2 separate regions of the Homo sapiens genome follow, and region 2 is linked to region 1. Evidence: promoter capture Hi-C in human tissues and cell types (Jung and others, 2019). All regions are on one chromosome and are shown on one strand. The core of a region is centred on a gene start or on the middle of the fragment in contact, and the rest is flanking DNA. Distances in the headings are between cores, read along the strand shown.

Region 1 (7,220 bases), core at 1,671-4,170:
TTCCTTGGTGTTAGTTATTCCAACTGCTGAAGCTGGAGAGCTTAGGGGAATCAGAAGAAAACAGGATGATTTTCTCTAAATAGATTGTTTAAATCTATTGATGATTGAAGCGGAGCATCTTTTTGGAAATTCTGGGACTTACTTGGCTAAGTCTAATTCTGGTCACATCCCTTCCTTGTGGTTTAATAAACTTCAGCTAAAACCAAACTGACTCAAGAATCAAATTATTTGTTCTCCCATGCACTTGCTCGTCACAGTTGGGTACCAAATGAAACACTATCAACAGTCAACCCAACACTTCTGGAGGGAACACATCATGGCTACGCCACTAAAGCTTAATATAGCTTAATGCTACTGGCCCCATTAGCCTCGCCAGCCCAAGAATTGACCTAAATATCCTCACTGGTTCTTAGAAATCATTATTCTTACATATGAACATAACCTTAACATCACTAAAAGTATGGATATTACAGATAAACTGTGTACTGATATAGGAGATAAAACTACAATTGGGGAGACTCAATGAATAACTGTATTGATATAAGATATAATTGAGGAGACTGAACAAACAAGGATTTTCTAAAACCTGAAAAGACTGGGTCTTCAAACAGCAGAATATTAAAATAGATAATTAGTGTTTATAGTCTGTAAGCATGTGGTAACTGTGTATGTCTTCTAACTCAAATGAAACCATGTCAGAACACATGCTACGAGGCAGGGCATTGAGGGGATCTGAGCCTTCACAATAAAATGTCCAAGGAAAGAAGACTAATAGGTATATTATTATACTAATAGGTATTATACTAATAGGTATAGGTATACCTATTACCTTGAGACTAATAGGTAGGTATATTGTTCAAGCAAAAGAAGCTGTTATAAGGATTCATCCATATTTACTCACCTGGTGAAGTCAAAATACTTTAAAGCTAGAGTGTGCAATTCTGAGTTATCCATGAAAATCCTTCATTTTACAGAAGAGAAACTCAGGCAGAGATGAGGTACCTTAACCAGGCTTACACTGCACTAGTTGGGGCCCACACTAAAACTTAAGTCTCTTAATTTTAGCTCCATGTGCAAAACACAAAACATTAAATTTAAAAGTTAAAAAGGCACACAGCAGGCAGGCAATAAATATTTGCCAATGGCACTGAAAAAACAAAGATGTGGAGTACCAAAACTATCTCAATATACTACCTACTAATAGAGTAAGCCAAGTCATTACCTTGACTTGGTCCGACTTGCTCCAAAGTAGCCTAGGCTTTATCTCTTGTGGAAGGGATAAAAACCATTCCTTCCATAATCAATATAATGCTATTGGGACAATTATTGAAGCATGCAAGTCGGTGGTGAAACCAAGAGCTTTGTAGCATTCTTAGTAAGGAGTGCATTTGAACAAATCTACCCTTGAAACAGTGCCAGTTTGCAAACACATGAAGTGTGGCTTCAGTGGGGAAATCTACAAAAGGCAGGCATGACTAAGCAACCCAAATAGCTAGAAACACCAGAAACTGTCAGAAGTCTGAGGACCCCAACATGACTGCACATAAGTGTAAGTTGGATTTTCCCATCTATTGTTTCTAGTGCAAATGGGGGTGGAGGGGCTTTGTATGATCGTGTTGGTTTCTTTTTAAATAAAAAACTTCAGTGGTGTACAAGGATTTTCAAACAATATTTTATTCCATCCTCCACTCCACCCACTTAAGAAACAAATTTTGGAACAATCTGACTGAGCTACTGGGCAGACAATTGACCAGACCAAATTTAAGCAATCTACAATGCACTTTTTGATGTTACTTGATTATATATGTCACAAAGGAGGCTCTTAAATCTATAGCTGAACTCTTGGTTAAGGAAACCAAGTCTCAATAATCATGTAAAACACATGTGCTATGTCCCTTAGTGGGCTGTCAAATATACTAACTACTGAATTTTCCTTAAATTCTGACATCTCTAGCTATTTAACTTTCCTTTCTTTAAAAAAATTTTTTTTCTCTAAAAAAATTCAAGAACATCCACCAAAGAGAATAGCTAAAAATAATTAAATAGAAAACCACAATTCATAGATCCCCAGGATAAAATTTCCACAGCATTACAGGTGGAAAGAAAATGCGTGCATACACACACATTTACATAAAGATGTAAAAATATTTATGGCACCCTAAGAAAAAAAATGACAGTGAAAGCAAACAATCCTACCACAACAGGACAAACCTAGTTTTACTATTCTCTTTGCGCAGGTATAAAACTAAACAAATGCACTTGCTGGCGGGGAAGGGAGGACAGAGAGCAATTCCCACTTAAACTTGCTTCATTCAGGAGCTAGGGTAACAAACCAAAGCAGCAGAAAAGGCTCCCGTGCAAAACATAACCAGTCTGAAGGTCCCAAATCGGGAAGAACTAAACTAGGGGAAGGGGGATCCCCGAAGCTCTTGAACAACCCGTTCCCCAAATTTCCATGCCACACAACAGGAGCTGGGGGCTTCCCTCGGACTCCATTTTCAGGCCGCGTTGTCTGCCTTTCAGGCCACGCAGGGTGGGCATTTGGGTGAGGCCGGGGTCCCCCACCCACCTTTCCTCCCCGCCCTCTTCATTGTTGTCGGAGTGTGATGGATCACCTGCCGGGCGCGGGCTCCCGCGGGCGGACCGGCTGAGCGCAAGGACGCGCAGTGACGAGCGCCGCGCGCCTCCCGCAGGACCCGCGCCCCGCGACCCCAACCTACTGCCCGCCCCCACCGCGCTCACCGCCACGAAGCCCGAGGAAGAGGCGATGAACACGCGGATGACCATCCTCTCGCTGCGCCCGGGACAGACCCCTTGCCCCCCGGGCTCCGGGCTGGCGTGGACGCAGAGCTGAACCCAGCTACGAGCCGCCGGCAGCCTCTGGGTAAAGCGCTGCCGTCGGGGAAGATCGCTGGGATCTGGCTCCCTCCCGGCGGGTCCGCAGATAAAAGCCCAGCGCCGCCCGGCCGCAGGCTGAAGGGGAAGGAGAGGGAGGAGGAGGGAGCCGGCTGCGGGGCTTGATGGGATTTGTAGTTTCCGTCTCTCCCTGGAGTGGCTGGTGGACTGAGCTCCCCTCCTGACCGCGCTTCTATCCCGAACACGCGCAGGTGGCTGGAGGGGAGCCACAGCCCGGGCAGAAGCTGTGAGGTGGGTTGGCAAGGATCCTGGCTTGATGAGGAAAAAGCAAACTAGGCAAAAGGGCTCGGTTCAAAGTCCAAGCTTGGGTTCTGTATTGTGGTTTATTGGTTTGGAGCATCCACACCCAGAAATGCCAACAGACACGATCGTGCTGCGGGCACACATCGTCTCAGGGCCGCTGGCGTACCGGGCAAACCCCAGCTACCTGAAGCAGGCGGGATCGGCGAGCCGGGTGCTTGGGAGGTGTGGGCGGTGGGGTTGGGCTCGTTTGTTTGTCCAGTAGCACTGGAGATTGCAGAAAGGTGATTCTTTTGGGTAAATGAGAGGTCTTCTCTTGTCTGTACACACTGAAAATTAGAAACCCAGATGGAAGCACAACCAATATTTTATTTTTCTCAGCAAAACTGTAATTGTAGTAGAAAAAAATAAATACCAAACGAAATTGGAATCCTTCTATCAACATTGGAAATCAGGACCCTACCTGCCCCACCCCTCCCTACACAATGGCTTCGCCTCTGTGCACCTAATATTTACAGTTCAGCCAAATCTGTGCCTTTTTCAGAACCGCTGCACATTCCAGCGCAGTTTCCCAGGAGGATGCTGTTAAATAAAAAGCTTCTATATAGTTGCTAATAGTTTAGGAATAGTTTTTTATCAAGTGCTTTCTGTTTGACAAAAGCTCAAGCCTCTCTCTCAGTTTTGTCGAAAGGAACCAGTTTTCCCTGCTGTACTGTATTTACTTTTTTCCTTTCAACACGGGAGTTTAGCAGAGGTCTGGGAACAATGTTAATTAAGAAAAAGTAAGAAATTAGATGATGAGGTCTCTGGCTCTTTGATACATTTCTTGCACAAAGAGCAATCATTATGAAGTATTTTTTAGAACAGTTATGAATATTTCAAATTTATAACCTTTCCTATTGCTTTTCTTAAAGCCATTTCTGTAGTAGGAATCTTTTTAAATTTCCTTCAATAATAGAAGAGACACTCCTAATGGGACTTTATTTCTTCTTCGTGTTTAAAATTTTAAATAGAAGTTTTGCTGTCTTTAGTATCTCTCGGCAAATGTACTTTAATTTTGCTACCATAAATGTGGAAATGCACGTTTATAAAATAGAAAATAATTTTCTTAAAAGTAGATACCGTATTTCCTATATAAATGCAAATCTTTATAAAAGTCAGCATTTTCTTCAGTTTGGAATTATTCAGCTATGAAGATATAGTTAAACTCAAATAATTGGAACTCAGAGCCTACTCTGTGAAAGGTACAAGAATGGATAAAAAGTTGAACGAGTCATTTCTCTGTCAGCAGAGCACCTATTGTCTAGGAAAGAAAAAGACAGATACAGAAATAGTGACAGAACAAGACACACTGTACTAATACAGTGTTGTGTGGATGTAAAGGAAAAAGGTGGCCATAGAAGGTACTTTAAAGATGAGTAGAATTTCTGTCTGCAGATAGGGAGGATGCAGGGTGAGACTATTCAGGGTGTGTGAGGAGAACAGCAAGGAGTTGGTTTTGCTTCAGAAAGGAATATGAGGGAACTAGTAGAGGACAATGCTGAAAAAGTAGGTTTGAATGAATGCCAACAAAGGACTTTCTCACTGGGTTATCTGCTCAGCTCCTTGGGATTTCTGCTCCTTTCCTCTGATCCTAGAGGTTGTAAGGGTCCCCCAAGCCCTGTACATACAGCAGGGCCTAACCCTCTGACCACAGCTTATTGATCTAGGAGTGAGCACCTAAGCCAAGCAAGGCCAAGCAACATTTCTACCCTAAAGATTCAGAATTGGAACTGGGAAAACAAGAGAGCTTGAATTTGTGACATGGAAGCTCAGAGCTTCCAACATGAGAATCAGAGAAGCTGAAGAAGCTAGTCAGTAGAAAGAGAACAACAGAGAATTTGTAAAAAAGAGTTGGAGATAATAGCTCTAAGTTTTAGAAAGAGTCCTGACAATACTGTAATCTAAGGGTCCTCAAACTATGACCTGTATGTCAAATGCACGTGGCTACCTGCTTTGTAAATAAAGTTTTATTGGAACACATTCCTCTTGGTATTGTCTATGGTAGACTGACAGAGGTCGTATGGCCCACAAAGCCTAATACATTTACATCTGGCCTTTACAGAAAAAGTTTGCCAATCTCTGATCCTGTTCAACCTGTTCCTATATCCCTGCTCTTGAGGGCTGTGTAATATCCCTATATCTGTAAGTTCCTCATCTTGCTTAAGCCACCTGAAATAGGTTTTGTTTCATGGAACCAAAAGTGCCCTGAGAAATTCATAAGCGCTCTGTGTCCAAATGCATTCTGAGGAACAGAAGGATATAATCAGAATTATACTTCAAGAAGAATCCTCTATTTTTTCCACCCTGAATGAAAAGGTTCACCTTTTGACCTTGTATGCAGGAGAAAATATGTTAGCAATCCAGTAAAACAGCAAGGCCGGTATGGAGTTGAGACCCAGAGTTGGTAAACAAAGTGGAAGAGTACCTGAGAGCAGAATGCAATCTAGGATATAAGATAGAGGTCCAAGATCAACACCAGCTTATCAGACCACAGAGAGTATTAGATGCCAATCTGACAAATAAGGTCTACAGATAGAGCGGGTAGCCAAAACTGAAAGATGAGACTAAGAAAATTGAGCAGGTCATTAGGCTTGAAGAAAGTGGCTCCCATGTTGCCTAGGACTTTATCCCCTTTACAAGTCCTGGTAGACCATATGGCTAGAATGTTTTAAAGTAGGGGTTCTTGACCTTTTTTTTTTGTGGGAGTAAGAGGAGTGCCAAGGACCCTTTAGTAGTCTGATGAAATCTATCGGTGGTTTCTCAAAAAAAAAAAGTTTCTAAATATAGAAAATTTGAAAGTATAAGGTTACAAAGGAAACTATACTGCAAAACAATTACCAAAATGTTAAAATTTTGATATGATAATATGTATGATTCTTTATTAATGTATTAAATATTAAGATTGGTGGATCAAACGGCCGTCATGATTTTGAAGTAGTAATGGGAAAAGATAAAATTTTGAGATATTTGCAATCATTGGAAAATATGAAAATGCCTGTGATTTCTATTGGTAACAAAGTCACAGTGTTGTTGCTATTACAATGGCTTAACTACTTTCATAATTGAAGGAATTGGTAAATTTCAGTTAGAGTTTAGTGAAAAGATAAAGATGTGATTTTTTTTCTCATTCAAGTCCATGAACCCCCTAAATTCTATCAAGTCCCTTTAGGCTGGGGGTGAGGGGAGATCCAAGAACCCCAGGTTAAGAAATCATGATGTCTGAATATATCTAAATCTACAGAAGCCTATTATTTTGCCTAAGAAGAAAACATGGAAAGAGACAAGAAGGAGCCATGAAGAGTCCCTTGGAGATCTCCTACACTTAAGAATTGGAAAAAGAATGAGGAATTAAAAATAGTAGAAGAGCAACCAGAATAGTACAAAACTGAAAGAGTATGCTGTCACAGAAACCAAGAGAAGAATTTTAAGTTTCAAAATGTAGAGACTATCTAAGAATGTTAGCCTGAAAGTCAAGAAAGATTATATTGAAAATGAGACTCTCCTTTGGCAAATTTCATCACCTCCATAAGCCTCAAGTTTCTTGTCTATAAAATGGGTATCAACAATGGCTATCAATCAATATTCTAATGATAATTGACTACCTTTAGGATATTATTTAAGTTATGCCATACGGTGCCTGTCAACCCACAGCCCTTCTAAAGGAAACTCTCAGGCTACCTGGTCACAGATATTTGGAATATTTGGACCACATTTGTGTTCTTCCCCCGGCATGACCTATTGCAGCTTGAAATTTACAACATATGTGACCAGGTCGGAAAATACATGCAGGTCCTTCAAATTCCTCTTTTAGGAATTTATAGTTAGAAAATTTAAAGACTAAGGCAGTTAGCAATAGAATAAAGGGGGATGGTATGAGGCTGGGATAGGATTGGGATGAGAAGCTTTGAGCAAGTTGAGGCAATGAAGGGACTGAAATGAGTAAAAAGAGGAAGCTAGTCTGTGGCCCGGGGAAATAGAGTCACTATGTAGTGAGAAGCTGAGACACTAACAAGGAGGCTGAC
Region 2 (7,613 bases), core at 4,106-6,605, 2.0 Mb before region 1:
TAAGTTTTTAATCCATCTTGAGTTAATTTTGTATAAGGTGTAAGGAAAGGGTTCAGTTTCAGTTTTCTACATATGGCTAGCCAGTTTTCCCAGCACCAATTATTGAACAGGAAATGCTTTCTCCATTGCTTGTTTTTGTCAGATTTGTCAAAGATCAGATGGTTGTAGATGTCTGGTGTTATTTCTGAGCTCCCTTTTCTGTTCCATTGGTCTATATGTCTGTTTTGGTATCAGTACCATGCTGATTTGCTTACTGTAGCCTTGTAGTATAGTTTGAAGTCAGGTAGCATGATGGCCTCCAGCTTTGTTCTTTATGCTTAGGACTGTTTTGGCTATACGGGCTCTTCTTTGGTTCCATGTGAAATTTAAAGTAGTTTTTTCTAATTATGTGAAGAATGTCAATGGTAGTTTAATGGGAATAGCATGGAATCTATAAATTATTTTGGGAGGTATGGCCATTTTCATGATATTGATTGTTCCTATCCATGAGGATGGAATGTTTTTCTATTTGTTTGTGTTCTCTCTTATTTCCTTGAACAGTGGTTTGAAGTTCTCCTTGAAGAAGTCCTTCACATCCCTTGTTAGCTGTATTCCTAGGTATTTTATTATCTTTGTAGCAATTGTGAATGGGAGTTCATTTATGATTTGGATCTCTGCTTGTCAATTGTTGGTGTATATGAATGCTTGTGATTTTTGCACATTGACTTTGTATCCTGAGACTTTGCTGAAGTTGTTTATCAGCTTAAGTTTTGGGCTGATACGATGAGGTTTTCTAAATATAGAATCATGTCGTCTGCAAACAAAGACAATTTCACTTCTTCTCTTTCTATTTGAATACTCTTGATTTCTTTCTCTTGCCTGACTGCCCTGGCCAGAACTTCCAATACTACGTTGAATAGGAGTGGTGAGAAAGGGCATCCTTGTCTTGTACTGGTTTTCAAAGGGAATGCTTCCAGCTTTTGCCGATTCAATGTGATATTGGCTGTGGATTTGTCATAAACAGCTCATATGTTTCATCACTACCCAGTATATTGAGGTTTTTTTTTGTTTGTTTTTTTGTTTTTTTTTTTTTTTTTTTTTTGAGACAGAATCTTGCTCTGTCTCCCAGGCTGGAGTGCAGTGGCACGATCTCGGCTCACTGCAAACTCTGCCTCCCAGGTTCATGCCATTCTCCTGCCTCAGCCTACTGAGTAGCTGGGACTACAGGAGCCTGCCACCATGTCTAGATCATTTCTTTTTGTTTTTGTATTTTTAGTAGAGTCAGGGTTTCACCATGTTAGCCAGGATGGTCTTGATCTCCTGACCTTGTCATCTGCCCGCCTGGGCCTCCCAAAATGCTGGGATTACAGGCATGACCCACCATGCCCAAATACCCAGTTTATTGAGTTTTTAACATGAAGGGATGTTGAATTTTATCAAAGGCCTTTTCTGCATCTGTTGAGATAATCATGTGGTTTTTGTCTTCTGTTTATGTTATGGATTATGTTTATTGATTTGCATATGTTGAACCAGCCTTGCTTCCAAGGGATGGAGCCCGCTTGATTGTGGTGAATAAGTTCTTTGATGTGCTGCTGGATTTGGTTTGCCAGTATTTTATTGAAGATTTTTGCATAGATGTTCATCAGGGATATTGGCCTGAAGTTTTCTTTTTTTGTTGTGTCTCTGCCAGGTTTTGGTATCAGGATGATGCTGGCCTCATAAAATGAGTTAGGGAGGAGTCCCTCCTTTTCAATTGCTTGGAATGATTTCAGACGGAATGGTACCAGCTCCTCTTTGTGCCTCTGTTAGAATTCAGCTGTGAATCCATCTGGTCCTGGGAGTTTTTTGGTTGGTAGGCTATTAATTACTGCCTCAATTTCAGACCTTGTTATTGGTCTAATCAGGGATTCGATTTCTTCCTGGTTTAGTCTTGAGAGGGTGTATGTGTCCAGGAATTTATCCATTTCTTCTAGATTTTCTAGTTTATTTGCATAGAGGTGTTTATAGCATTCTCTGATGGTGGTTTGTATTTCTGTGGTGTCAGTGGGACAGCGTGGTGATTCCTCAAGGATCTAGAACCAGAAAAACATTTGACCCAGCAGTTCCATTACTGGGTATATACCCAAAGGAATATAAATTATTCTACTATTAAGACACATGCACATGTATGTTTATTTACATTCACTATAACAAAGACATGAAACCAGCCCAAATGCCCATCAATGATAGACTGGATAAAGAAAATGTGATGCCTATAAACCATGGAATACTATGCAGCCATAAAAAGGAATGAGATCATATCCCTTGCAGGGACATGGATGAAGCTAGAAGCCACCATTCTCAGCAAACTAACACAGGAACAGAAAACCAGACACTTCATGGTCTCACTTATAAGTGGGAGTTGAACAATGAGAACACACGGACACAGGGAGGGGAACAACACATACTGGGGCCTGTTGAGGGGTAGGGGGCACAGGGAGGGAACCTAGATGACAGGTCAATAGATGCAGCAAACCACTATGGCACACATATACCTATGTAACAAATCTGCACATTCTGCACATGTATCCTGGAAGTTAAAGTAAGATAAAAATAAAAATAAAAAAAATAAAAAAACACAGGTATCTGACAGATGGGATTGCACTAAACTCAAAAGCTTTTGCACATCAGGGGAAACAACTGAGTGAAGAAGTGATTCACATATTGGGAGAACATATTTGCAAATCATACATTGAAAAAGTGGTTAATATTCAAAATGTACAAGAAATTCAACTCTAGCAAAAACCAAAATAAGACAAAACAAAACAAAAATTATGCAATTAAAAATGGACAAAAAAACCCTGAATAGACATTTTTCAAAAAAAATGGCCAACAGGTGTATGAAAAGGTGCTCAACATTTCTAATCATCAGATAAATGCAAATTAAAAGCACAATGAGGTAACACATCATACCTGTTAGATTAGCTACGAACAAAAAGAATAAAGAAAGCAAGTGCTGGTGAGAATGTGGAGAAATAGGAACCATTGTGCACCGTTGGCAGTGTTGCGAATTAATATCACCATTTTGGAAAATGATGTGGAGCTTCCTCAAAAAACTAAAAATAGAGTTAACATATAATCCGGCAATCTCCCTTTTGAGAATATATCCAAAGAAATAAAGCCAATATGTTAAAGAGTTGACTACATTTGTATATTCATTGTAACACTATTCACAATAGCCAAATGAAGATAACTAAAGTGCCCATTAACAGATGAATCAATTAAAAAAAGTGATGTGTACATATACAATAGAATATTACTCAACCTTTAAAAAGCAGAAAATCCTGTCATTCAGGAAGGTAGGGGTGAAACTAGAGGATATTATGCTAAGTGAAATAAGCCAGGCACAAAGAGACAAATACTATATGATTTTATATATATATGTGAAATTTTAATAAATCAAACTCATAGAAGTAGAGAGTAAAATGGTGGTTACCAGGAGCTTGGGGAAAAGAGGAGATATTGATCAAAGGATACAAAGGTTCAATTAGATACAAGGAATAAGTTCTGGTGATTTATTGCAAAGTATGGTGACTATAGTTAATGTATATTTCAAAATAGCTAAAATAGAAGACCTTATTTTATGATTTTCTCATGTAAGATAGGTTTTACTATTTATTTTTTTTAACTTTTATTTTATGTTCAGGGGTACATGTGAAGGCTTGTTACACAGGTAAACTCATGTCACAGGTGTTTGTTGTACAGATTATTTCATCACCCAGGAATTAAGCCCAATACCCAATAGTTACCTTTTCTCCTCCCCTCCCTCCTCTCACCTTCCACCCTCAAGTATACCCCAGTGTTTGTCATTCCCTTCTTGGTGTTCATAAGTTGTCATCATTTAGCTCCTGCTTATAAGTAAGAACACATGGTATTTGGTTTTCTCTTCCTGAATTAGTTTGCTGAGGATGATAGCCTCCAGCTCCATCTATGTTCCTGCATGAGAAATGATCTTGTTCTTTTTTATGGCATATAGTATTCCATGATGTACATGTACCACATTTTCTTTATCCAATCTCTCATCAGTGGGCATTTAGGTTGATTCCAAGTCTTTGCTATTGTTAATAGTGCTGTAACGAACATTCGCATGCATGTGTCTTTACGGTAGAGTGATTTACATTCCTCTGGGTATATACCCAGTAATGGGATTGCTGGGTCAAATGATAGTTCTGCTTTTGACTCTTTGGGGAATTGCCATACTGCTTTCCACAAGGGTTGAACTAATTTACACTCCCACCAATAGTGTATAAGTGTTCCCTTTTCTCTGCAACCTCACCAGCATCTGTTATTTTTTTGACATTTTAATAGTAACCATTCTGATTCATGTGAAATGGCATCTCATTGTGGTTTTGATTTGCATTTCTCTAATGAACAGTGATATTAAGTGAACAGTGATTTTTTTCATATGTTTGTTGGCCACATGTATGTCGTCTTTTAAAAAGTGTCCGTTCATGTCCTTTGTCCACATTTTTATGGGGTTGTTTAGAAGCTCTTAAGTTCAATTAAATCCTACTTGTCAATTTTTGGTTTTGTTGTGATTGCTTTTGGTGTCTTTGTCATGAAATCTTTGCCCATTCCTGTGTCCAGGATGGTATTGCCTAGGTTGTCTTCCGGGATTTTATAGATTTGAGTTTTACATTTAAGTCTTTTAATCCATCTTGAGTTGATTTTTGTATATGGTATAAAGAAGAAGCTTCAATCTTCTAAAACAGAGGATTTTAAATGTTCTCATCACAATTAAATGACAAATATTTGAAATGATGAATATGCTAATTATTCCTGATTTGATCATTTTACAATGTATACGTTTCAAACATTGCACTGTATCTCATAAATATACACAAGTATTATTTGTTAGTTAAAAATTAAGTAAAACTTTGAAAAATCAGGTGTCTGAGCCCCATCCCCAGACTTTCTGATTCAGTACTTCTAAGGTGAAATCCAAGAACTGGCCTTTCTAGTAAGTTTTCCAGTGATGCCGATGCTGCTGGTTCAGGACCACATTTTGAGAATCCCTCCACTAGAATATTCTACAGTAATAAGCAATCCCACATTTAAGTGGTTTATAACAACAGAAGCTTATTTCTCAGTGTATGTGGCATGAATGTTGCAGTCTGCAGGGGGACTCTGCACATCATGGCCACTCAAGGGCCCAGGCTTATGGGGGCTCCACTGCCATACGTGCATCCATGGTCATCAGAGAGAGGAAGAGAACCTGGTCAGTTATGAGCTGACTCTTAAAATTTCTGTTTGGAACAACTCACTCAGTGTTAGCTATTATGGGTAAAATTTTAGTGTAATTTCTGTTAATAGCACTGATTAGGGTTAGGCAACTTATCAAGGGAGTGATGCTACTTCTGAAGCTTGCTTGGATATGCATGGGGAGGAGAGTCAGAATGACAGGGATAAAGACTGCTCTCATCTTTTGCACTGACATTGCAAAGTAATGCTGTTTTTCTTTTTCTCTGTCATCTTGAACTGCCTTTTCAGTCTTGTGCCTTTACACAAATCCTGTTTCTGAGATTTTCTAGCCTTGACTTCTGAATTCCATTTATTAAACCTTGCCTGTTCTGTGTCAATGTAATAGCTAAGAATTATTGATCAGGTCATTATTTTATGTGTTTTACATACAGTCTTTCTTTTAATCACTAAATCTCTTATCATCTTCATGTCACAGATAAGGAAACTGAGGTCCAGAGTCCCTTTGGCTTTAATCTGATAGTTGTCTTCCATCTACTTCCCTTTGGACTTGATGCTTTGGACTTTCCCTTGCTTTAAGTACCCCCTTCACCTGGTTCATGGACTTCATCTGCAGAGCCTTGAGCTCACACTGGGCACTTCTCTGCCTTGCTTGGCTCCTAGAGAAGAGGCTACACTTGGATGATAAAAAACCTGCTCACATGTTCATCTCAAGGGTATTGGAGAACTACAACATATTACAGGTACTTTCATGTGAGTACTTCAAATTCTACAAAAACATATAGCAAGAGAGGAATTATTTTTTTCTCATTTCAGCTTCATGCAGCCATTATTTCTTTGGTGAAGTTTTTGTGCTCAATAAATTATAGCAATAGCACAGGTCAGTTTTACCTGAATCCCCACCACTTATTTTAAATTTTATTCTAGGAAGACAGAAAAGTACAGTGGGAAAAAGACAGGTTTTGAAGCCAGGTAAACCTAGGGCCGAGTCCCTGTTATACTATTCTACTAGCTGGGGGACTTTGATGAGGACATTTGATTTCTCTTATTTGTAAAATGAGAACAACCTCAAAGAAATGTATTTTTTAGGTAAAGCATCACTTTTCTGTACTGCAAGGGCCTGCAGGAAAATTAAACAGGAGGTGGTTGGACCAATAAAAGCTTATGCAACTGTAATTAATTAATGAGATATGTGGGCCTGTTCTTTACAATTTTTTCAGCTTATTTGCGCTGCCAAAAGATGAATTCTCAGTCTCCAGAGAATGGGATTAGCAGTATGAAGAATTTGAAGTGATCTTTCTCTTCTAGAATGACTGTTTGTTTTTCATCTCTGTTCAAATAGCTAAGTTGATTTATTTCATAGTTCTAGCTTTGCTTTTATATTATCTCATATTACTTCATCAGAATTATGATTATTTGTTTTTCAGTTTAAAAACATATATCATGCATTATGTGTGTCTTAACATTCTGTTAAGCATTATTATGGATACCAGAAAATTAAAAGGCATCGTTCCTGCTGGTAGGAAGGTTATATGTTAATTGAGACAAAGTTAATACTTCAGTAACAACTCTAGGAAAATTCCAGATTATGTATTATACAGTATCATATTGTGGGGATAGGTGAACATCTATAGTATATGGCCAGGGCTTTCCTTTCCCCTAAATTTTGGGAGAAATTTATTACATGGATACTTTACAAGGGGTATTGTGTTATCTGGTAGATGGTAACTTGGAGTATGGTTATAGAAAATATAGAAGGGGTGGATTTCTGTCATGTCACCCCTCAGACACATGCCAGGTGGGTCTTAGCAGAAAACTAGATTAAGACCAAGAGGAAATAATAATACTTCAGAAGCTAAAACCCCCAGCGTTAAACAAAGTTTTTCAAAATACATTGGTTTCTCCAATTCATTCTCCACCATGCTATCAGAGTAACCTTTTAAAAATGCGAATTTGATCATGTCAATCAACTGCTTTACATTTTTGTTGGCTTCCATTGTATTCTTCTAGGAGAAAGACCCAAACCTTTAACATTGCTTAAGGCCCACTGTGGGCTGGCTGGCCCCTACCTTTGTGCCCTCTCATTTATGCTAATGACATTCTTTAAACAGAAGCCACGAGGTTCTGCTGTCAGTACTCATTGAGACCAAAAAATACATTTCTTGCTGTTGGTCAAAAAGTCTTGTCCAAGTAAATTATAGGTGTGGGAAAAAATCCGTAACAGAATGAGAACATGAGTAAGAAGTGAACTGAAAGACAAAATTAGTAAACATTCTTCTCAACTCTTATTAAGTACAATTCCATGTTTACATTCTTAAGATGAGCCTAAGTTAAGGTCTGAGAGCTAGACAGCTATTTTTTGATTGTTATGTTTTCAAAAACTTCAGTCCTAGTAA

The links. The method cuts DNA at HindIII sites, captures the fragments that hold promoters and counts their contacts. A contact is called where the count stands out against the background at its distance.
Region 2: a fragment that was not itself captured here is called in contact with the fragment with the promoter of SH3BGRL2 in region 1 in 1 of the 25 tissues and cell types used here (dorsolateral prefrontal cortex).

Annotation. Positions count from the first base shown.
Region 1 is chr6:79,627,029-79,634,248 of GRCh38, reverse strand. It overlaps SH3BGRL2 (SH3 domain binding glutamate rich protein like 2), which reads right to left and starts at 2,920. Exons shown (of 4, transcript NM_031469.4): 1 at 2,743-2,920. The coding sequence starts at 2,787. The HindIII fragment of the contact is 5,139 bases long and covers 1-3,486 here.
Region 2 is chr6:81,597,327-81,604,939 of GRCh38, reverse strand. No RefSeq gene overlaps it. Among named protein-coding and RNA genes, the nearest start is that of TENT5A, 150 kb to the left of the region's middle. The HindIII fragment of the contact is 3,364 bases long and covers 3,674-7,037 here.